Regions from separate parts of the Homo sapiens genome. Here all the other regions are linked to region 6. Evidence: promoter capture Hi-C in 16 types of primary human blood cells and fetal thymus (Javierre and others, 2016). All regions are on one chromosome and are shown on one strand. Each heading gives the region's core, a stretch centred on a gene start or on the middle of the fragment in contact. The rest is flanking DNA. Distances are from core to core; before and after follow the strand shown. Region 1 overlaps MAP3K1 (mitogen-activated protein kinase kinase kinase 1). Region 2 has its middle 12 kb from the start of MAP3K1. Region 3 overlaps MAP3K1 (mitogen-activated protein kinase kinase kinase 1). Region 4 overlaps MAP3K1 (mitogen-activated protein kinase kinase kinase 1). Region 5 has its middle 31 kb from the start of MAP3K1. Region 6 holds the start of LINC01948 (long intergenic non-protein coding RNA 1948). Region 7 overlaps MAP3K1 (mitogen-activated protein kinase kinase kinase 1).

Region 1 (3,577 bases), core at 623-3,122, 370 kb after region 6:
TTTCTCAAAACACATTGTTTAGCTGAAATCTGTTATTTTTTTAAGGTCAAAAGTGTATACACTATTATTTAAAATAGGTATGTTTCTGGGTAATGTTTGGCAAAAATAACTCCCCGAAACATTCACGTTTAACCAACATGAGTTGGAGATGGCTCTCATCTCCCAGTGACTTCACAGCTATCTGTTTAGATTAGCTTTGGTTAAAAAAAGATTTTTTTCCTGCTATGGCTGTGATATCTTAATTGGATGATAAATCACTGCTATATACATACATACATACACACACACACTCATCTAGTAAAAATGAAAACCCTATATATGCCTGGCTTATGGAAGATTATATGTTAGGATTATAACAAAAACAATACAAGTATGTAAAAAAATTTTTCACAGTTTGGTTCTGTTTCAGAGAGAAATTAAACAGAGTAGATGTGATTTATTCGTGGCAAATACAATAGGATTTACTATATATTTCATTGATTCAAAGATCCCAGTGGTTGTAAGTTGTACCATTATTTTATATACTATGAAGGAAATAACACCTGCCAGTTAAATTATAATAACTTTTGATTGCAAGAGGCATTCATATTTCAGATATTAAAATGTGAAAAAATACACATTTTAAAATTAATGACATGTAATTATTACAAAGAGACTAGGAAAAACACTTTGGTTTATATTTGCAGATTAATTTAGGAACAGTGAAAATTGTTCTGAACAACATCTAAATTGCAAATTTAGTCTTAATTAAATACAGAATTATAAAAAAAGTTAATAAGAATAGTCATTAAAATTTAAAACTGGGAAGGCTGTAGGACTGCCAGAGTTAATAAGTGATCATTCACTTAATATATGTTCATACTTATTATGAGCCAGACATGCTTAGATGTTAGGTGTATAGATGGCGATAACACGTGGTCCCCTCACTCATGGAGCTTACAGTTCATAAGAGAGGAACAGTTTGCAAACTGCATTAACCATGTTAAAGGAAAAATACAAGTGCTGTGAAAGAATGGAACTGGGAGTTCTTAATTGAAATTGGGAAAGTCTCTGAGGAGTTGAGGAAAATCTAGAGAGTGGGTAGAAATTAGGTAAAAAGTAGACAGAGAAGGAAGCAGCCTGTCCAGAAGCCCTGAGTAGGAAAGATCTTGGGGTTATTGAGGCAGTGAAGAAGGGGGGTTGCAGGTCTGATGACAGGAATTGAGGTGAGACCACGAGGTGCAGGGCCACTTAGGTTGGGCTAAACATTTTGGATTTTAGTCTAAGCCCGGGGGGAACCACTAGAGCATTTTAATGGAGGAAGTAACCCTGGCTGCACTGTGAAATCTGGGTAAGATTCAAAGTTAAAGAAGCCTCGTTAGGAGCCTGTTGCTAGTTCAGAGCAGGTTTAAGAGCAGCTTGACCTGGATGGGCGTGTGAATGGAAGACATATTTTTTAGAAGATTATTTGACAATATTATCAAAAGTCTTCATTTGTGTACATTTTTAACCCAGCATTTCCATTTCTAGGTGTTTATTCTAAAGAAATAATTTAGGCCAAATGTGGTGTAATCCCAGCACTTTGGGAGGCCGAGGTGGGTGGATCACCTGAGGTCAGGAGTTCGAGACCAGCCTGACCAACATGGTGAAACCTCATCTCTACTAAAAACACAAAATTAGCCAGGCGTGGTGGCACATGCCTGTAATACTAGCTACTTGGAAGGCTGAGGCAGGAGAATCACTTGAACCTGGGAGGCGGAGGTTGCCAGTGAGCCTATTGCACCATTGCACTCCAGTCTGGGCAACAAGAGCTAAACTCCATCTCAAAAAAAAAAAAAAAAAAGAAAGAAAAAAGAAAAAAATAATCTCATAGTCCTTAAACATAAATAAGGTAAAACGAAATTTAAAAAAGAATCTCAGATGTGTGTAAAAGTTCAGCTACTAGAATGCTCATCCCTATTATTTATGATAAAAGAAATTGGTCTAAAAGATGACAGTATTTTCAAACAAGTGGAAAGGAAAGAGACACATTAGACTTTAAGGAGGCCATGCCATCCAGAAAGATTTGTTTAGACAAGGAACATCCTTTGTGTGTTTGACTCAGGGCCAGGAACAGAAACTGAAAATCCATAGCAGAGAAGAGATACTCCTGAAACAGATTTGGGGGAAGAGAGATAGCTAGGACCAGAGGAAAGACTATCAAGCACCTTGGTCTAGGAGTGCAGGAGTTTCTGGTATAAAAATGCACTGCAGTTCCACTGTGAGGCTTATTTTTTGGAACTAGCCTGGGAACCAAACCACCTCTTGCAACATTGTTACTGGAGGGGGAAAGCGCTTTTAATACTAAAGACTTGGAAGTGAATTTTTATTATGCAGTCACCACATAAATTCAGTTGCCTACAAAGCTGAGCCTCCTGGAATACCAACTGAGCAGGATGGACTTTTTTGGAAGACACTTTATCCCCTGTGTTCTTCACCCCTACCTCTCTTTCTCTGCCTTCCTCTCCCTCCTCCTTTTTCTCCTCCTCCTTTCTTCTCTGCCTTCTTCCCTTCTCTCCATCCCCCCTTCCTCTTTCCTTCTTTCTCCTCCCTCCCTCTCTTACTTTCTTCTACACATCCCCTAATATTTATATTTTATAATCAGCATAAAAAGCAGCCAAGCACATATAAGTAAATTAGATAATCCTCCTTTTTTCATACTTTTTGAAAGTCTCATATTGCTTCTATATAACAGTATTTGTGTGTGTATGTGTGTGTAAGGAAATATTTTACGCTGTGGTCTTAATGCCTATTTGCAAGTTTCAAACCAAATGTTATGTATTCTTTGTATTTCTAAAAATGTCTAGGCCAGTTGCTGATACAAAGATGTTTAATATGTTGCCTTCTACTTTCCTCACAGTCTTGATGCTTCAGTGAAACGGGTTAACCGTTTCCTTTCTAGTGAATATTTTTTTTTAAGTAGTTTCTTCTTCCTTTGGCTGATTCTCTGAAGATCGTACTTCATAGTTGTGATTAGCTGGAAAATTCCTAGAGGAGTTTGAATTTGTCTTTGTAGTAAACTTGAGGTTCTTGTTTTTGGTATTTCCTTGAGTATTTCCTTTTCCTATCAGTGTAGAAAAACTGTTCTCTAGCTTTAAAGACTTTTCAAAATAGTTACTGAAATTAGCTTAGTATTTTTAAAGTTGTTACTAATCCCAAGGTGCAGTTGCTTTAACTGCATCCTTATAAATCAGGTTTTCAAATCTATGCATATCGTGTATGCATGTATGCTCATGTGGATATGGGTATATTTTAAAATTAGTGATTTTCGTGAGCTTGATGCTTTGCCTGTTAGGCTTTGTAGAGTTAATTCTCAAACGTTCTTAGTTTAGAGATTGTTTTATTCTGGTAAATCCACACCATTTTATGGAGTAAAGATCAAATGTTTGTACTGGATAATTTTTATTCTTTATAGAGTACCCCAAGTGCTTTGTTATGAAGTCACTGTTCTATGAAAATAAAAATTTAATCATGTAGGCTATGAAAAATTGTTTTGGGGTCATAGATGATGTAGTTAAGTTTCACTTCACTTATTAAATATTTATTGAGCTTATTTCAG
Region 2 (3,179 bases), core at 200-2,699, 320 kb after region 6:
AATTAAATGGAGTGACAGTATGCAAAATGCCTGACACACAAGAGTTCTCAGCAAATGCTAGTTGAATTGAATTCTAGATTACTCATTCTCGGGAAGGAATTCATCTCTAATTTTAGTCTTTCCATCAATAAATTTGATACGTTTATTTTGTTTTCTGGATTATTGAGTAGTCCTCCTCCCTTCAAAAATAATCAACTCATTTTGGGCAAAGTACAGAAGAAGCAAGTAAGAATAAAAGGAATATTAAATATTGCAATGGCAATAAAAAGAATTAAAATCTTTGCGATATGAATAAGCTCACAGAGCAGCCCAGACTTTTTGGTGTACATTGTCAAGGAAGGCAGTGAATCCAATAATGTTAATAACTTCCCTATGTATATAAGGGCAACTGCAGACTTTCAGAGAGAACCCAACCCATTGTAATTTTATGCCATCCTCTTATTAAGAATGGCCTCTTGACAGTTACCTAAGCTCATATTATCATCCTTGATTAAATTAATATGAGAAGGATGACAAGTGCTGAGATACTTCCCTTCAAATAAGATGAAAACAGCATCCAAGGAATAAGGAAGAAATACAAGCGAAGAGGTCAAAAATCAGCTGAGTTAGCAGGGGCTACTCTAAACAGATGCTCAGCCTCTCAGGAGACTGACAGCTCCAGTATGCGATGGGCCAGGCAGTTTGGGAGCTGCCCCTTCCTTCTGCCAGACCAGATGATGATTAGCATCTGACACATGAATAGGAATAGCTGGGCCTGGGCCTGAAACTGCAGGGAGGGGCACTGGTCCCAGCCAACAAGCCTGCAAAGCAGTTGGAGAATAGAAAAATGCAAATGTCCTAGGTCTCCTCAGCCATTAATTCAGAATCTAAGTACTGGTATATAGTTAGCTGTTTCAGGAAGATAAAGAACTGCTTTTAGAAAAAGATAGCCATTTACAAATCAGCTTAGGATTGTTCTTATATTTCAGAAGCTTTTTATTTCCAATAACATTTCTATAGAATATCACCCCTGAACATGTTAATATTTGAACAAATTTTAAAAACCTAAATCTTCCTGGAATTAGGTTGTACTCATTTTGCCAATATCCTACTTCTAATGGAGGAGGTGAATCATTAAGACAAAATTTAGGGAACCTCTGAGATATCAAAATTGATTTAAAATAACATGAAAAATTGTATTTCCATGGTCTTACTTTGCCTAACCCAATGGTTTCTTCCCTTTAAACGAGTTGGCATCCCAATGTTTTCACATATACTAATGAGCTAACAACAATACTCATGGATTTTATACTAATCTATTTAGAAATAAAGAAGATAGCCTTGTGATTTTACCAGCATTTGAAGCACTCCTCAAAGAAAAATCATTCTTAGTTTATTTTGCCTCTCTCAGACTGGGATAGGATATGGCTTGCTCTGTAGCCCACGAAACAGAGTGAAGAGCTTCTGTCTCAGCTTCCACAGATTACCATGTTCTATTACAGTTGGCACAGCAGATTCTCTGCCCACTAAATCATCTGAAGCAACAGATGGATCCCACAATTGCCAATAAATATTTGTGAAGGGGGAGGCTTTCTGCAGAGATTTCCTGTGTTTTAGAGCTTTTGCTGCAATGATACTTTTAGTTTTTCATCTTAGAAATTATTTTTCTTTGTAATTTGAGATGGAAGTCAATGATGAGTATCGTCTTAGGATGTGCAGAGCAGTACTAAATTAAAACCAAAAACCAAGATTCTCTCATCTCATGTGTTGTTTTCAGTTTGTTTTTTGAGCTTAGCACCTCACATCTTCTTGGTCTACCTTTTACTTCTGCTCTGGCGGCAGCTCACTGTGGCCCCACAGCATCTCTCTCTAGCCCCACCCTGTTATGGCTCACTTCTGCCCCAGGTGAAGGTGCCAGTGGTAAGCCGATTGCCTTCTGCACAGGCACAAAGCTTGAAACGTGGAAGGGTAACACCTCCTGGCCCAGAGCTTGTCCACTGAAGACAGGAGCTGAAGGGTAAATGTTACCCTACCCTCTCCCATTTCTCCAGTGTATAATGTGAGGCACCTTCCACACAGCTCCCCAGATGGGCCCAGAGGGACTGAGCCCCAACCGTCCATGACGGTGGAAATCAACTGGATAAGGCCCCCCAGGCCTGGTTTTCACCTCCCTCACTCCTGTTTCCTCATCTCAGGATCTGCTTTCAAGGGACACAGATTAAACTCCTACCAATGGTGACTGTTTCTTTTGTCCTTAGCAAATACCAGACATTATCCACTTTTTAAAGTGTTTTCAGTCTGGCAGGAAATAAATGTCACCATTTTCATCTGCATGTGTGATTATTAGTAAGTGAAAGAGAAAACACTTTTAAAAATCACAAGTAAACCACAATAAAAAATCAGTAGTTTCTCCTAAGATAAAAACCAATACTTTGTTGCCTCTTCCCCCAACCCAGATGAAGGTATTACTTTCTGATTTTCACACGACAAATATGGTGCCAAGGAAACAACATACCAGAAGTCTTTTCCTACTACCTTATAGCTCTTGAAATGTTAAGACAGGACCAGGAAATGATGGGTATTATTTGAATTTGGGCCTTTGTCTATATGTGACGGACTTTCATAAACTGTTAGAGACGGACTAGATGTTAAATATCACCAAGTTGAGTATTCCGGCTTAGAAAAATGGAGACACTAAGACCCAGTGAAGAGAAGTAATGGAGAGACTTGCCACCTGTGACACAGACAAGGGTAGCCCTGGCCTGGAACTCCTGACTCTTTGGTGCTTTTCCTGCTAAGCCATGTTGTCCTTTCTTCAGAAATTGATCATTTGGCTTTCCCACAACATCCTCACTTGTGGTATCTTATAAGACCACATTTACTACTGAAATAAGAAATGTTATAATTTCACCATAAAGGCATCACAAAGAACGATTTTTTAAAGAAAAATATCCAGAGACATGATATCTTTGTAGGAAACATTATTATGGTGAGCTCCAGAGAGAGCTTTCTGAAGGGTCCCAAACTGCAATTTATTACTGGAATACTGGGATCCTAGTTCAAAGGTGACATAAAATATGAGGTCAGCATGAGTATCTAAAATACACAAGACAAAACTGAGAGTTGCTAACACAAAATCAAGACCAATAAATAGGCCAGGCACAGTGGCTCATTTCTGTAATCCCAGCACTTTGGGAGGC
Region 3 (3,515 bases), core at 154-2,653, 410 kb after region 6:
ATGCATGGAATCCTGAAGGAAAATGGTAGCTTTTTAATCTTTTTGTGTGTGTGTGAGTCTTTTAAATCAAGTACTGATTAACTATTAAGTACAACTTTGAGATTTTAGTTTTAACTCTTCAGAAGCCAGTGTGAAATAGAATTGGTTATTCTCAAAGACTCAGGATAAACTAAATAAGCTATATATAGAGTACATTTAAAATGTACAACACAAATTGGAAATAAAATAAGTTACAAGATAAGTTTACAGGGATATATTGCTTACAATTTTTAAAAGGCAGTTTGTTTTTTATGTGAATATGTTTCTTAGTGAAATTTTACATTCCTTTGTTTTGGAAGATTGGCGATATTTGAAGAGTTAAAAATAGTACAGAAATGTGAAGTTTGGTATCTCTAAATGTGTTGTACTTGACTTTCTTTTTTATTTTGTTTTTTTTTTTTTTTGACTACTTAGAATTTTCACAATTCTAATAAGATTGTTTCCAAGTCTCTCATGTGCAAGCTTTAAAGGATGCACTCTTGCCATTTTATGTACTGGAAGATCATTGGTCAGATGAATACTGTGTCTGACAAAAATGTAAACTGTATAAACTGAGGAACCTCAGCTAATCAGTATTACTTTGTAGATCACCATGCCCACCACATTTCAAACTCAAACTATCTGTAGATTTCAAAATCCATTGTGTTTGAGTTTGTTTGCAGTTCCCTCAGCTTGCTGGTAATTGTGGTGTTTTGTTTTTTGTTTTGTTTTCAATGCAAATGTGATGTAATATTCTTATTTTCTTTGGATCAAAGCTGGACTGGAAATTGTATCGTGTAATTATTTTTGTGTTCTTAATGTTATTTGGTACTCAAGTTGTAAATAACGTCTACTACTGTTTATTCCAGTTTCTACTACCTCAGGTGTCCTATAGATTTTTCTTCTACCAAAGTTCACTTTCACAATGAAATTATATTTGCTGTGTGACTATGATTCCTAAGATTTCCAGGGCTTAAGGGCTAACTTCTATTAGCACCTTACTGTGTAAGCAAATGTTACAAAAAAAAAAAAAAAAAATCTCTGGGTTAAGAAAATTTGGCTTAAATGTATCCTTTGTTATTTTAAATATATTGAGATATTTTAATTAAAATTTTTACCCCATTGAACCGATTTTATAGTATTTGTACCTATTTTGGTGTTTTTGTCTTTATAGTAAATAAAAGTTTTTGAACAAATGTTGTTACTTTTATTTATTTTGAAATAATTTCATACTTATATAAAAGTTGCAAGAATACCACAGAGAACTTCTGTATACCCTTCACCCAAAGACCCCAGTCAGGTTTCACCAGCTGCCCATTTATGTCCTTTATAGCAAGAGGATCCAAACCAGGATCACATGTTGCTCTCAGTTGTCATGTTTCTTCAGTCTCATTGAATCCAGGGCCATTCCTTAGTTCTTCCTTGACCTTAATGGCCTTAATTTTTTAAAGATTTCAGATTATTGTTTTATAGAAGCTCTTCAAATTGAGTTTGTCTGGTGCTGCTTCTTGATTAGATTCAGAGTATGCACTTTTGGCAGGAACATCACAGAGGTGATGCTGTGCTCCTCTCGGTGTGTCATGTCAGGAGGCATAGAGGTCGTTTGCCCCATCACTGGTGATAACTGATAGTAACACTGTATAGTTAGTCTTTCCTTTTATAATTAAAATCCACCTTTATAATTGGAAGTATTCTTTGGGGGTGATATTAGAGACTACATAAATATGATGTTTCTTGCCCAGTTTTAACTCTGCTCTTAGCTTTTTTGCCTGAATATATTACTCTGATGGTTGCCAAATGGTGATGTAGTTCCTTCACTTTTTCTTTGCAACATTTTGCTGCAAAGAAGAGCTTTCCCTTCTCCCATTTATTTATCATGTATCATCATATATTTGCTCAACTTGTTGCGGATTTGCCCAGTGGGAATGTCTGAGAGCTAGCTTCTCTATCCTTGGCAAGCCACCATTATTCTTTGAACACTTCCATACTTTCAGCCCCATCTTACGCAATGTCTCCTTTGGCCCTGGAATCAGCCATTTTCCCAAAGAGCCCTGATTCCTTTGATAGAGAATGGTATGTTTAAAACCAACATCTGGGTGCTAGATAGGCTCAATTCTACTGGATGTCACCACTCCTTGGCTGTCTTGGTAGAGCTAGAATGTATTTATGAATATGCACAGTTCGGTGCACACTTGCAAAGTACGCATACATATACCTACCTACATACATAAAAACCATGAGCTCACACCAACCTTCCAACTGCAATCCAACACCAACAGGGTTCATTCAAGCTTTCCCTTTTTCCAAATTTGTAACTTTCTTCTCAGGCAGTGAGAATCATGACTGATTATTCCCAACATATTGACTTACTTGCTTAATTCTTCCTCATGTCCCTCCCCCATGTAACCGATCTCCATGCAAAATGGTTAATGTTGCTGAGTTCAGAAGCCATTTTGTTTCTCTACATTGGTTTCAAGTTTCTGTATAATTTGATTTGTTGTTTTTTTTGTTTTTTTTTTTTTTTTTTTTTTTGAGACAGTCTCACTCTGTTGTCCACGTTGAAGTGCAGTGGCACAATCTCAGCTCACTAAAGGCTCTGCCTCCCAGGTTCAAAGGATGCTCCTGCCTCAGCCTCCCGAGTAGCTGGGATTACAGGTGGACACCACCATGCCTGTCTAATTCTTGTATTTTTAGTAGAGACAAGGTTTCACCATGTTGGCCAGGCTGGTCTCGAATTCCTGACCTCAGGTGAACCACCTGCCTCGGCCTCCCAAAGTATAATTTGATTTTAAATGTAAGTCTTTTAAATAGGTTTTGGGTATTTTTTGCAAAAGGGTACATTTCTGTCACTTAAAAATATTAAGTTGGAGAAAAGTTTTTTTTCCAGATGAAGTAATAGAACCAATTCTATTGCTCCTTAATTCTATTTAAATGATATTAATAATTTTATAAAATGGGTGACAGTCTTCATGTCAGAATCCAGAAAAATGTTGGGGTATTGTGCTCATAGAAATGCCAATGATTGCATTTATGAGCTGATGTAAGTCATTTGTTATAAAACAATGCATGAAATAACTACAGTGAGGGAAAACTGACTAATGGAAACTTATACAAATTGCTGTCTTTCTATGTCATGACGTGGTTTGGCCGTTTTAAATTATACTATAAGCATAAATGCCAGGTTGAGCTGTGATTAAAAAGGAAAGGACGGGCCTCTTAAAGTAGGTAACGACGGATGCAGTGACTACAGGACCTGAGATACAACCTGGGTTAAATCTGGTTCTGCCACTTACCTGCTACGTGACCCCCATTTTGACTTTCTGAACCTCCATTTCTGCATCTATAAAATGAAAGTGACAGTGTCGTGAGAAGTGAGAGCCTATATAAATGGCCTAGAATAGTATCTGGCATGTAGTGAATGCACAAGATGTGTTTTTATGAATGAATGACCCAAAGGTCACAGACTCAAACCACCCATGGGACTAGATCCCCAGCAA
Region 4 (3,565 bases), core at 229-2,728, 350 kb after region 6:
TAGGACTAATGCAAAAATTAAATGAATTCCATGAGAATTCTTTTTTGACCTCACAAGAGTTAAGGAGACCTACTTTATGTGAAAGTGAGATTTTTATAGATAATACTTTGAAAACCTAAATTACTCTGATACTAAACAGTTTACTGTGTCTGTTAAAGTAAAAAACCTAATTGAATTGCAGTTGAAATTCAAGAGTCTAGACATTCCTTGTGGGCATATTTGATTTCCTCTTTCCCCTTTTAGCTGTTGGAGAGGGAATTGCCAGGTGTCTTTAGTGGAAAGATATTTAACCTGCTGTCTGACTGCTTATTGTGGTAGATGAAGTGTTAGCACTGGCTCAGGCTTGTGAGACCGTTCCCCATTACTGTCCTAACACTTTGGCAGGATTTTGAGTAAAGTTACTTTATTTAACCTCTTTTGAGTTTGACCTCATCTATGAATTAGAAATAATGATACCCTTCATACTTAGAGAATTTGGGAAGAGCAAATGAGATGATGAATATAAAAACCTACCCTTTCAGAAGGGTAAAAATAAAATACTAGGATTTATGGTCATAGCATTTTAGAATTCGGAAGGACAACCTCCTGACTCTAAGCAGTAAAAGTGGCAAGCAAAGGGGGTTCAGCCATTGTTGAGAGATTTCCTACTTCAGTACAGTGCTGGGTCTGGGATCCAGCCTCAATCATCCTAGTTCACTGTCACTCTCCTACTGTACTTATCTGAAATGGCAATAATAGTTAACTTCCTCTGTGCTTGGTACACTGGATGCCTTATATAAATTGTCTCATTTAAGTCTTACATCATCCTTGTGAATTTTGATTCCCATTTTACATATGAGAAATCAGAGACTGTGAGAGGTGAGGTATCCTGGCAAGGTGGTAGCACAGCTAGTGGGTGGCAAAGCCTGAAACTGAACCTTAGCAGTTTGACTTCAAGCCTGCGTTCTTAACCTTTATGATTATCTTTGCATATTTTTTTTAAATCAAGAGGTAAGTTTGTTTAATCAGAGCACAAATTTTATTATCTTGGAAAAATTATTCATTTCTTTGTCTTAGCTTTTATTCATTCTTCACATAGTGTATTATGAAGTCAAAATCATATGTAGTGATGACTTTTTAAATTAAATTATCTATTTAGGTCTTCCAAAAATACAGAAAACATTAGTGAAGCATTTTAAGTTTTTGTTTTGTTTTGTTTTTGTTTTGAGACGGAGTCTCGCTCTGTCACCAGGCTGGAGTGCAGTGGGGCTATCTCAGCTCACTGAAACCTCCACCTCCTGGGTTCAAGTGATTCTCCTGCCTCAGCCTCCCTAGTAGCTGGGATTACAGGCATGCATCACCGCACCCAGATAATTTTTGTGTTTTTAGTAGAGATGGGGTTTCACCATGTTGGCTAGGATGGTCTTGATCTCCTGACCTTGTGATCCGCCTGCCTCAGCCTCCCAAAGTGCTGGGATTACAGGCGTGAGCCACCATGCTCTGCCATGATTTTTTTGTTTTTATATGAAGTTCTTCTAAAATAAAGCAAGTTATAAACACAAATACATTTAAATTTCAGTGTTTTTACAAGGCCAGGGAAGAGACGCGGCTTCAGGGAAAAATATGGTTGAACTTTGTTAATACATACATTTTTTTGCCAGCAAAATTGGAGATATGCTTGGTGTGCACATACATTAAAAGCAGTAATTGTTAACACTTTTGGAGTACTTCACAGAGTGCCTGCCCAGACTGTCTGACATGCTTCTCATTTGGTGCCTACGCAGCCTTGCACAGTAGTAAGGGGAGAGTGAACACTCATGACCTCCTGCTGTCTATGCACACACTCCCTCCCCCACAGTGCCTCAGCTCACACCTGAGTATCTCTCTGCATGCTCCCAGGGAGCTTCCTGCAGTACCTTAGGCATTCTGAAACGTGTGTCTTTACAACAAGACACACTTGTTAAAGCTGTTTACAAATGAGCCTTGGCGGGGGCGGGGAAAGCTGGTTTTCATTTCCAGTTATTTTAAATTTAGGCTTATTTCACACTTCAGCATTCTTTTAATTAATGTGTTTTAATTAAAAGAATTAATTATTCTTGGTTGGTAATGCCCTTTAATTTGAGTAAAGATGATATCTAAGGCCAGCATCTAGTATTAAGTTATGCCTAGATGGACTTCTGTTCATTTATTCTGTTACTGGTGGTTGTTCTTTACTAGTGAAATAAGTTAACGAATGCCTGCCTGTCACATGTGGGGCCTTTATTTTGTGTTCAGCAGGCACCTTCTTTGATAATTATAAGAGCTTAGTGACTGAGAGAATTCAGTAATCTTCCTGACCCCTATGCCTTCCCAACAAAGGAGATTATCTTTTAGTTTATAGAAAGGTCACTCAGGTAAAACTGAAATCTCCTTCAAGGCAAGATAAATATCTTTATCCTTAACTGTGTCTCTGACATGCCATTATTTTTTCTTCAGTAGTAGTTTGCTGGCCCATAAGTCTTTTATGTGAACTGCTTATGGTTGGAAACTTAAACACTGTCACTTTAGCTCAGCACTTGTTTATTGACATACTTTCCTATGTGTATGTACTGTGCTAGGAACTGAGTGAGCCCTAGGTAAATGCTGGAGCCAGGGGAGATAAAAAGAGAGTTTAATTCTTGTGTTCTCTAGCTAGTTATTGATTACTTGTAGCTAATTTCATAAGAAACTCTTGGAGGAAACTGAAGAGTAGTTGTAGGTTCTACCTGGATGTGACAGGATTCTATGTGTATGCCTGGATATGAGGACAGCTTGTTGAATACTGCCTGTTAATTTGCTTTTGGGTGGATCATGAGGTCAGGAGTTCGAGACCAGCCTGGCCAACATGGTAAAACCCCGTCTGTACTGTACAAAAAATTAGCTGGGCATGGTGGCAGGTGCCTGTAATCCCAGCTACTCGGGAAGCTGAGGCAGGATAATCACTTGAACCCGAGAGGCGGATGTTGCAGTGAGCTGAGATGATGCCACTGCACTCCAGCCTGGGCAACAGAGCAAGACTCCATCTCAAAACAAAGAAAGAAAAAAGATGAGAGAAATATTGTTGTGCTTTAAGAAAGCCTTTTAAATTAAAATGTGAGTTGACACCCCAGCCAGAATAAGGGTGATGGTGTCAGGCTCCTGAAAATGATTTTGTTGTGTATATTTTACTTATATACAGCTTTTAAGAGAATAACTTGTATAAAATAAGATACTTAATTTTAGATATTATTATAATAAGTCTTAACAAGTAATAAGATATAAAATTAAGTATCTTATTTTATACAAGTTAATTACTTATTAGTGGTAATTCCACCTGCAGGCTTGAAGTTTCATGGCCTCCAGTGTTTCTCTCCAATGGAACCTTTGCTCCGTTGAACCTTGGATGGCTTAGAATCTGGCACAGATGCTAAGGGTTGAGAAGTGAATGATAGTTCTGTTGGCAATCTTAATTCCTTGATGGGCAGGCCCAGGATCACATCCATACCTTAGAAAGGGTAGCAGGGAAATACTAGCTCAGCTTCCTCCCTGAAGAATGCCAGTATTTCCTGGAAAAGAGCTGAAGAGGATC
Region 5 (3,429 bases), core at 861-3,360, 300 kb after region 6:
CTAGGCAGTCTGGAGCTAGAATCTAGCTCATCTAAAACCTGAAGGCCTGGCAAGGTATTATCATGCTAATCAGTAAGTAATCAGGATGCCTATGCATTAGCTTCCATAACACCTGCATAATCGCATGTATCTTACTATATTGTAATTGTTGCTTTGAATACTTGCCTCCCCTGTTAAGCTGAAAACTGCTTTAGAACAAGGACTGAAGTAGTTTTGTATTTACATAACAGTATTGAGCACAGTGCCTGGTACCTAAAAAGTATGTGGTAGGCGCTTGTTGGATGGATAGTTGGATGAAAGAAAAAACAATTTTTAAAAATGGATGGATGGATAGATGGATTTATCCCAACTTACTAGATAGCCATTGGAATTTGAATGTCCTTGAAATAGGGATGAAAATCTCACCTAACAATAAAAATATTCACAGACTTTCTTCTTAATGAGCTAATTCTCTCTTGCTAACCAACATATAGAAAAAAAATTATCTCTTGATGTTATCCAAGCCTTTTCAGGGAGGAAATACTATCCCACTCATGAGCATTTCAAACCCTGCAGAAACCAAAAAAGGTGAAAAAGAAAGGAATGTTGTTTATGGAAATAATACGTCTTGTCAGGAATTTGTGTTTTATCTCATAAAAAGAACAAAACAAAAAGAGAATCTGCCTTATGCTCTGGCATCAACAGGAAACCTAGTTCATTACAAATGTAGCCTGGATACCTCCAGGGGAAGAAAAAGATGAGTGAATGAATGAATGGATAATAGACTTGCCTTTTCTGAAGTGGAATCCAGGTTTTAATCCAGTCTTAATCCACTGTATGTGGTAACAGTTGCATTAGTAATATGCTTTGTCACAACACAAACTACCCAGACTGTAAGACTGTTGGACGTTTATACTCAAACCAAGAGTCTATGTTTTATTCATTTTGAGTGGCACAAATCAGCGCTGAGATATGGGAACTAAACCTTGAAAAGTTTCCTCCTATATTTGAAGCTGGAAAAACTTCAAGGCACTTTGATTCAAATACACATTCTATTAAAATGTGTATCTTGCTTAAGCCCAGGAGGTGGAGGCTGCAGTGAGCAGAGATCATGCCACTGCACTCTAGCACTCCAGCCTGGGCAATAGAGCAAAACCTTGTCTCAAAAAAAAAAAAAGTGTATATATTTCATACCAATTGCTTCTGTACTTAGTGTAGCTTAAGATACAAAAGCCTCTGAATCAAAACAGTAACTGCAGAATTGCTTTTACAAGTCTAATGATGTACTCAATGTAATGTGATAGGTTTCATCTAAATAATGTATAATTTTATCTGTTTTCCATTGCTTTATATTCTGTCAAATGGAAAACAGTTCTATAGAAGTCAAATTCTGGACTTCCTTTGTTATAACTATATTTCAGCTGATTAGTGTTGTTCTTTGGGACTTTCTTTTAGCAATCAGATACAATTACCATTGTTCTATAACACTGACTACCAAACTTGTTATTTCACTCTGAGAGCTGTGCCTGTCTTGTCTTTATTTTTCTCTCTTCGGGATAATATCCACTGTAGTGTCCATAAATCTTTACTGAAGGGATTCACTATTAAACTACTTAGCAAAGTTAGTATTCTTTAAAGATATTGTTTGTTTTAATGAGTAGAGAGGAGGGCAGAGTTCTGCCACATTAAGTGTAGTTAAGAGGACCCTCAACACAGCATCGACATCACCTAAGAGCATCTTAGAAATGCAGAATCTCAGAACTTTCAGACTTTAATGTGCATTTGAACCAACTGCGGATGTTAAAAAGCAGATTCTGATTCAGGAGGTCTGGGGTGGGGCCCGAGATTCTGCAGTTTGATGAGCTCACAGGTGATGTCTACACAGCTAGTCCTCAAGCCACCTCCTGAGTAGCAAGACCTAGGGAAAGAGCCCATGATGATATCGCACTTACCACGTATCTGACTAAAACAAAGAGATTTAATAAGATAAGTAGTTGTTAAATAAAGATTTACTTAGCACATAGTCTATGACTAATCCTTTTATGATTGAGTTATTTGACTTTAGATAGACCATAAGACTTCCGTTTATTATCCTTTTCTATTTAATGAACATAGTACTTCAATTTGTTTTCCAATAATGTTTACATTCGACCTTTGTATTCATTTTATGCATTCTATTTGTCATGTTACCTAAGGCCAGACAACCGTCATTTGAAATAGTTATTTTTAAGAGATAGAACCAAATACGTAAAGATATAATTTTCAAGTAAAGAAAAAACTGGTGTTTTCTTAAAAAATTTAAATCTTGTTATGATTTAATACTAGTTACATGTTGTAGGAAACAAAACCAAGTAAAGAAATTACGGCAGTCTTCAATTATTTATTTATTTATTTATTTATTTATTTATTTATTTATTTTGAGACAGAGTCTGTCTTTGTCGCCCAGGCTGAAGTGCAGTGGTGCATCTCAGCTCACTGCAACCTCTGCCTCCCAGTTTCAAGTGATTCTCCTGCCTCAGCCTCCTGAATAGCTGGGACTACAAGTGTGTGCAACCACGCCTGGCTAATTTTTGTATTTTTAGTAGAGACGGGATTTCACCATGTTGTTCAGGCTCGTCTTGAACTCCTGACCTGGTGATTTGCCCTCCTCAGCCTCCCAAAGTTCTGGGATTACAGGTGTGCACCACCGTGCCCGGCCAGCAGTCTCCAATTCTAACTTGTTAGTACAAACCTTGGAAAATCACCTAATTGATTGCCTCACCAGGTTCCTCATCTATAAAATAGGCTTAAATTTAAGTTTCCTCAAGGCATTGATGTCAAGAGATATTAACAAAACATGTTGGTTCCTCTGGTTCTGAAAGTGTGGTCCTAGGACAAGCAGCATCAGCATCCCTGGGAATTTATTGGAGAAACAAATTTTCAGACCACACCCAAGCCCAAGACCTACTGAATCAAAAACTTGGGGTGGAGGCAAGAAATCTACATTTTTAACAAGTCCTCAGGTGATTCTGATATATGTTACAATGTTAGAACCACTGCAGTCTCTATAGAGCACAGTAACGATAACTCTCAATCAGTGGAGGAAGGGGTATACTATTCTAACTAGCAATCCATATGGAACAGTAAATTAGGCCGTATTAAATCAGGAACAATAAATTAGGGCTTACCTCACAATATTACACGTTTAAATCTATGCTGATTAAAAATATAAGTATAAATAGGGCCAGGCGCAGTGGCTCACGCCTGTAATCCCAGCACTTTGGGAGGCCAAGGCGGGCAGATCATTTGCGGTCAGGGGTTGGAGACCAGCGTGGCCAACATGGCGGAACCCCATCTCTACTAAAAATACAAAAATTAGCCAGGCGTGATGGCGGGCGCCTGTAATCCCAGCTACTCGGGAGGCTGAGGCACCAGAATCGTTTGAACCTGGGAAGCAAAAGTTGCAGTGAG
Region 6 (3,268 bases), core at 583-3,082:
GAACTGATTCAAACCGTTATTCAAGCTTATTCAAATGAATTTGAGAGTCTACTAACAGCCCTGGCTACATAATTTGCCGGGTGCAGTTCAAACTGAAAATGCAGGGTCCTTTTCAAAAATTATTAAGCATGTCAACATGGTGTCAGTAGAGCATCCAACTAAGCACACGTCGGCTTCTGAGCACAGGTCACAGGCCCAAAAACCCAGCCATGCCAAGCAATGACTATCCAATAAGTCAAACACCAGGAAACCCCAACCCCTCCACAGCCCTGCGGCTGCTGCAGCAGAAAAACAAAAACAAAACAGACACTCAACACCATCAGCATCAGCTCTTCCCAAACCACCAGCCTTCCTCAGAACCTCCCTCATTTGACCTGTTTTAACTCGTGTTCCCTCGACCTTCAAATTTTCAGTGTCCACAAAGCAGATCAAGGCTATCACAAAACAAAACAAACACCAAAAAGCCAACCCACTGGATCTAGAGACCTACGGACTTGCCCTCCTGATACTTGCAGCTGGTGTTTAAGGACGTGCCTGCCTTGGGCGATGGGCGGGTAGAAACCTCACACACCAAAGCCCATCGAGCTAAACTCAAGGTTGCGAACCCCAACCCCGGTGGGAACACGGTCTGCAGACACGCTCCCTTAAGTCCCTGTCGCACACAATAAATTGCTTTCTGAATATTCCCTTTACAACTGCAAAAAATAGAAATGGCTGTAACTGTGCAGAGAAAGAAAAGAGAAGCTGGGATGAGCTCCATCAGGGGCCGAATCTGCTTCTCGCTGGTGGATACTGTGATAAGAAACCTAGATCTGAACGGCCTCACAATGGCCTATTTATCCGGCTCTTACGCACGGCCGGCAGCCCCGGCTGGGAATCACGGGGGTGGCAGCCGTCCCCGGAAAACGGCGGCATTCCGACACAGGAAAGCCCGCGGATCAACTGATCTGCAGACAACGCTTCTTCCTTCCTGGGAAGCGGCCACAAAGGCAGCCAGCTGACCCCGGCCCAGCGCGGCTCCCGGCCGAGGAGGACAGGGGCGGGGTGGGGAGGGGGGGAATCGTCGCCCGCCCCGCCCCCACCCCCCAAGTTTCCTTTGGCAAAAGCATCCCAGGCGTGGTTCAGGCAGAGTCCACGCCAGCGAGGCTGGGGCCGAAACTCTCCACGCCAGGAAGGCGGGGTAGGCGGACCCGCCGCCCCCAGCCCCGCGCGCCCGCCGCGCCCCCCACGGCCCCCACCAGCTGGCTCTTCCGGCCGGGGCGGCCTTGGCCTGGGGCTGGGGTTGACTTTGGTGGGGGGACAGGAAGGACTGGCACAGCGCCCGCGACTGTCCCCTGAGGAGGACCCTCCCTACGACTTTTGGTCAAAAGCAAAAAGAAACACAGACATGTGCGTCACCCCGGGAAGCGCGCGGGGGTTTCGCTCGCGTTTCAGGAGCCGACTTCGCATCCTCCCTCGGTAGGGGGGTCGGGGGTTCCTAAAATTTACCCCCCAACTTCACTTCTCTGGCGACAGAGCACCTTAACAGTTCATTTCCCTCTCGCTCTCAAGTGAAAACATCTTATTTTTGTGTTAAAATGTATAAAGACACCATGAGAATTGGCAGGAGGTCAAACCGTAGATTCTGAGATGCTCCGGTCGCTCCCCAGGAAGCGCTGTTTTCGGAAGTGTTGACCCAGCAGCTGGTCCCTGCTGCTCTAATGACACGATGTGTGCTTTCACTTTTTCACTCCCAAAACGACGTGGTTTGGAGTCTTGAGAGCCTTGGAAATCGCTGCCCGTGGAGGGAAAGGTCTGGAGAGGCCAGGCCAGGAGAGCAGACATGCTGCAAGAAGCGGAGGCAGCCCTGTGAACTCGCCTGGCTCCGCAGGGAGGGGCGAGGCTGTCCAGGTCGCAGGTGGAGCTGGCCAGCTGCGAGCCAGGATGTCCTTGCTCTTTCCAAATTATACACAGTTTCCACAAGGAAAAAAGAGAGGGGTAGGGGGTCCAGGCAGATCTTCAGCTGTTTGTATACTCTGCACCAGGAGGCGCTATCATCAGCCCGGACCCCTACTCCACAGGACTGAGGAGACCACAATTCTTCCCTCCAGGCAGAATCGTGGACCCAATATTCCCGTCTCCCCGAATTCTCTTAACTCAGTATACTGCCATTAACAGCATAGTCAGCCTTCTGGACTTGAACTCCAGAAGGAATTTTGTCTCATTTAGTGCCTGCAGGGGAGCAGGATGAGATAGTACCTCTTGTACCGGCACAAGGTCTCTGAGTTGACTCTTACATAAACATTGCGCTGTTTCTAGGGACGGCATCATTTCTTGACCTAGAGAAACAAAGATATTGTGGGAAGGACCCCTGATGCTCAGTGGCAGTTTGGAGACCTGGCATTAGCCTTACTCAGTAAGGCTTCCTGATCTAGCAGGACTGATCCAGTCAGCTTTGATGATCCCCTAGCCTGGTACTGGGATTCTTCCAAACACCCATGAGATCACCCACATCTCACAGGGGCTGGTAGTGTTCCAGCAGAGAAAGGTGAGGGTAGCAAGCAGTAGTCACTTTGGGCCTGAAATGAACATCTTGGGGTTTTTATATCTGCCCACCCACTATGGGACATTATTGTCCCTTCCTCTTTGCTACAGTGTTTCCAGAAAATGAGAAGTAGCATCTTCTTAGAAATAGATTGGGTACCCTGTCTTAGACCTAGTTCCTTTTTTTTTGTTTTTTTGAGACGCTGTCTCACTCTGTCTCCCAGGCTGGAGTACAGTGGTGCGATCTGGGCTCACTGCAACCTCCGCCTTGGGGGTTCAAGTAATTCTCCTGCCTCAGCCTCCTGAGTAGCTGGGAATCCAGGTGTGTGCCACCACACTCGGCTAATTTTTGTATTTTTAATAGAGACAGGGTTTCACCATATTGGCCAGGCTACCCTTGAACTCCTGACCTCAAGTGATTCGCCTGCCCCAGCCTCCCAAAGAGCTGGGCAGTTACTTTTATTATAGTTCTAGATAACATAGAAAAGAACATGGAAAGCAGCTATGCAAGCAAAACACAAACACAAACAACCCTGTTAAAAAGTGGGCAAAAGACATGAACAGACACTTCTCAAAAGAAGACATGCAAGCAGCCAACAAATGTGAAAAGATGCTCAGCATTGCTGATTATCAGAGAAATGCAAATCAAAACCACGATGAGATCTCACACCACTCAGAATGACTATTATTAAAAAGTCAAAAAAACAACAGATGCTGGCAAGGCTGTGGAGAAAAGGGAACACAT
Region 7 (3,294 bases), core at 727-3,226, 390 kb after region 6:
TTGCTGGTAGTTACTCAGATCTGTTTTTCAGGGAAAAGTAGTTACTGTTTTTGCCATTACTTCTAATGGCAAAATTAGAATTAAAAAAATTAGAAGTAATGGCAAAAACCGCAATTACTTTTGCACCAACCTAATAGTTTAAGATAGTAGAAGTGCAATATTGGGCCTAGCTTAGCAGACTCTGAAATTTATAGATGTTGTAAGTTTATGGCATATTCTTCTCAGATAAAAGTGTAATGATAGATCTGCCACAAACTGATTTTATGATTTGAGGCAACTTATTTAACATCCCAGAGCCTTGTCTTTATATTATAATGAAAATACGGCTATTGATTTTAAAAGCCATCCCTCACATCATGAAGGTTTAAATAAAAACATTTATGAAATAGAAAACTAAAGCCCTCTTTAGCCTGGCTGCACACAAAATAACTACTGTTAACTATTTCATACAACTTTTAAAAATTACATAAATCAAGGAATGAAACTCTTCTTTGCACACTTCGTACTTCAGCAAACACATGCACGCACGTTCCCCCATCCATGTTTCTCTCAACTTTCTTACTGTTTTTAAACAAATACAAAGTCATGCCATATGTTCTGGTGTGCAGTTTTCTTTTACTTTTACTTTATATATCAAGAATATTTTTCCACATCATCACCAAATTACATACTTTTTTCTTTTCATGGCTGTATAAGATTATGTTGGTACACCATAATTTATTTAGCCATTGCCTTAATTAATGTACATTAAGTACATCTCCACTTTTTGGTTTACATACTTAAAATATGTAGCGATAACATCCTAGAAAATAGGATTTTTAGGTCATGAATATATACCATGTAGTATTTTAAGAAATACTAACAAAATTTCCTTCCAGAGATTTTAGTTTTTACTCCTACCAGCAGTCTATATGAGAACCTGGTTTTCTGTGCCATTATCAGGGCCAGATGTTACCAATCTATTATTTTTTATTCCAATTGCCTTTTTATTTCCTTTGTCCATTGTACTATTTATTAGTATTTTTCTAACTGATTTTTAAAAGTACTTTGTATGTTAGAAATACTCAAGTATATGCAATATAATTAACCATTATGTTGCGATTTTGCCATAAATGGAATCATCCTATACATGGTAGTTTTATTTTGACCTCATTTATGGATTTCTCTGTTCCTTTTTAAAGGCTTCAAGGTGTCTGGGTTTGCCATAATTTGTTTAGCCTCTTTTTGGCATTCATTTGGTTGTTTTGATTTCTTTTCGTTATTCTAAATAATATTGCAGTGGACATTTTCATACATATATCTCTATATATTTATCTTTTTATTTTCTTACGATACATTCCTAGAAGTCTAGGTGAAAGATTGTGTACACTTAAAATGTGATGTGTTCCTAGATTCATTTCTGGGAAAGTTGGATCAGTTCATACTGCCACCAGAAATTTCTGAAATAGGCATTTAAATTTAGGATGTGGAATCTTTGAGCTCTAAGGTCCGCCAGTACTTAAAATCTTGAAACTGGTACCATGTAGTGTATTTTTATACATAGTCAAACCTGTTGGTCTATTCAAAAGGTACAGTAGCAGAATTTGGGGGATACAAATGTTTCTTTCTAAGATTGCAGTCTGTGTATTGAATTGTTTTCATAGCAAAGAAGGTTAACTCACACCTACAATCTATAAATACTCGTGTGTTAATCTGATTTTAAATTACTGTATATTAATAGTGTAAATATGTATCTCTTAGTTATATAAGATGCTCTTAAGAATTTCTAATGTATTTATATTCTAAGCAAGCAGAAAGTGTTTTTAGCATATCCGTTCTACTTTATATTCTTTTATGCTTAATACTTTTTCTTCCCCTTTTCTATAGCATAAAGGATGAAGAGGAACAGATGTGTCCTATTTGCTTGTTGGGCATGCTTGATGAAGAAAGTCTTACAGTGTGTGAAGACGGCTGCAGGAACAAGCTGCACCACCACTGCATGTCAATTTGTATGTGGCTCTTTTTCTCCCTATGCTTACTCAACACAGTTGCTCTCTGAGCTAACTATGTTATTTAAGAGTGTAACATGGCTTGAGGGGAAATTGGTGAGAGAATAAAAAAAGTATATCTAAGTCCTAAGTCCTATGTGAAAAGTTTTCAACAAATGGGAATGTAGGATCTTTAGGAGATGACCTGTGTGAGCAAAGAAATGCAATAAAGTGTGTGTGACATATGTGATAATGGAAGAAGTGCACAGAATTAGAAACAATTTCAATCTGGAAGGTATACATGAAGGGAAGGAGGTGGAAGAAGACCTGGGCAGGCATTACAGAAAGGCTAGCATCAAAGTAAGGTTTGGAAGGACTTTACCTGGTAGTCAAACAGGGCAGAATGTTTTGAAAAATAGTAAGCAGAGTACATGTTATCAGAATGAATAAAATAGCATTTGCAAATCAAAATCATTTAACCTGCTGTGTTTACTTGCTTTCAGATAAACATTTAATTAGATTATTTTTGAGGTTCCTTCTATATAAATTCTATAATTATAAACAGTTATGAAATAAAAATAATGTTAAACATTTACATTTTTGTAAGATTTTGTTTCTGTAATTTTTCAGGGGCAGAAGAGTGTAGAAGAAATAGAGAACCTTTAATATGTCCCCTTTGTAGATCTAAGTGGAGATCTCATGATTTCTACAGGTAATAATTTTGAAATGATACGGATATGTTTAATTTTTAAAAATTTCTCAGTGTGGTTTGTCTTAATTTTTTTAAAGCAAGTTTTGTTATTTTTCATTTTAGCCACGAGTTGTCAAGTCCTGTGGATTCCCCTTCTTCCCTCAGAGCTGCACAGCAGCAAACCGTACAGCAGCAGCCTTTGGCTGGATCACGAAGGAATCAAGAGAGCAATTTTAACCTTACTCATTATGGAACTCAGCAAATCCCTCCTGCTTACAAAGATTTAGCTGAGCCATGGATTCAGGTAAGTAGTTCTTTGTTTTTCATTTCTCAAAGAAATATTTATAGATCAATTAATGTATTTGTCTCCTTCCCTCAGTTGTTCATAATTTAAAAAAACACTTTTACTTGCCTCCATCATGACCTTCATTCCACTGGAAATTTTAATGTTACTTTTGGTATTAATACTATACTGCTTATTGTACAGCTTCAACTTCAAAACTTCTTGTGGTTTCACTTCACATATCTAGAAACATCTCTTCCTGAACTAACGGACATACGGGGTTATTCAAGGATAGAAGGATAGAAACCAGAACCCTTCAATGCTAACTTTTCCCAATGTTTAATCCCCGTGCC

Evidence for each region. Contacts are between HindIII fragments. The CHiCAGO score rates a contact against its expected background, and 5 or more counts as called.
Region 1: a fragment that was not itself captured here is called in contact with the fragment with the promoter of LINC01948 in region 6 in 15 of 17 cell types (total B cells, naive B cells, neutrophils and 12 more); the score reaches 24.9 in total B cells.
Region 2: a fragment that was not itself captured here is called in contact with the fragment with the promoter of LINC01948 in region 6 in 13 of 17 cell types (naive B cells, neutrophils, total B cells and 10 more); the score reaches 17.7 in naive B cells.
Region 3: a fragment that was not itself captured here is called in contact with the fragment with the promoter of LINC01948 in region 6 in 3 of 17 cell types (naive B cells, total B cells and neutrophils); the score reaches 7.9 in naive B cells.
Region 4: a fragment that was not itself captured here is called in contact with the fragment with the promoter of LINC01948 in region 6 in 17 of 17 cell types (total B cells, naive B cells, neutrophils and 14 more); the score reaches 33.7 in total B cells.
Region 5: a fragment that was not itself captured here is called in contact with the fragment with the promoter of LINC01948 in region 6 in 1 of 17 cell types (naive B cells); the score reaches 6.1 in naive B cells.
Region 7: a fragment that was not itself captured here is called in contact with the fragment with the promoter of LINC01948 in region 6 in 3 of 17 cell types (naive B cells, neutrophils and total B cells); the score reaches 12.3 in naive B cells.

Annotation. Positions count from the first base shown.
Region 1 is chr5:56,852,629-56,856,205 of GRCh38, forward strand. The region is part of intron 1 of MAP3K1 (mitogen-activated protein kinase kinase kinase 1); the gene reads left to right. Among named protein-coding and RNA genes, the nearest start is that of MAP3K1, 39 kb to the left of the region's middle. The HindIII fragment of the contact is 3,900 bases long and covers 1-3,577 here.
Region 2 is chr5:56,801,703-56,804,881 of GRCh38, forward strand. No RefSeq gene overlaps it. Among named protein-coding and RNA genes, the nearest start is that of MAP3K1, 12 kb to the right of the region's middle. The HindIII fragment of the contact is 960 bases long and covers 970-1,929 here.
Region 3 is chr5:56,894,939-56,898,453 of GRCh38, forward strand. MAP3K1 (mitogen-activated protein kinase kinase kinase 1) reads left to right here. Exons shown (of 20, transcript NM_005921.2): 20 at 1-1,214. It overlaps LOC105378980 (a long non-coding RNA gene), which reads right to left. Exons shown (of 3, transcript XR_948347.4): 2 at 3,312-3,358; 3 at 1,499-1,642. Among named protein-coding and RNA genes, the nearest start is that of SETD9, 13 kb to the right of the region's middle. The HindIII fragment of the contact is 1,808 bases long and covers 500-2,307 here.
Region 4 is chr5:56,831,686-56,835,250 of GRCh38, forward strand. All of the region lies in intron 1 of MAP3K1 (mitogen-activated protein kinase kinase kinase 1), which reads left to right. Among named protein-coding and RNA genes, the nearest start is that of MAP3K1, 18 kb to the left of the region's middle. The HindIII fragment of the contact is 8,698 bases long and covers 1-3,565 here.
Region 5 is chr5:56,782,655-56,786,083 of GRCh38, forward strand. No RefSeq gene overlaps it. Among named protein-coding and RNA genes, the nearest start is that of MAP3K1, 31 kb to the right of the region's middle. The HindIII fragment of the contact is 5,570 bases long and covers 1-3,429 here.
Region 6 is chr5:56,479,937-56,483,204 of GRCh38, forward strand. LINC01948 (long intergenic non-protein coding RNA 1948) reads right to left here and starts at 1,833. Exons shown (of 5, transcript NR_104664.1): 1 at 1,617-1,833. RefSeq lists enhancers at 232-401, 1,602-1,761. The HindIII fragment of the contact is 6,332 bases long and covers 24-3,268 here.
Region 7 is chr5:56,870,044-56,873,337 of GRCh38, forward strand. It overlaps MAP3K1 (mitogen-activated protein kinase kinase kinase 1), which reads left to right. Exons shown (of 20, transcript NM_005921.2): 7 at 1,867-1,988; 8 at 2,598-2,679; 9 at 2,782-2,962. Among named protein-coding and RNA genes, the nearest start is that of SETD9, 38 kb to the right of the region's middle. The HindIII fragment of the contact is 4,014 bases long and covers 1-3,294 here.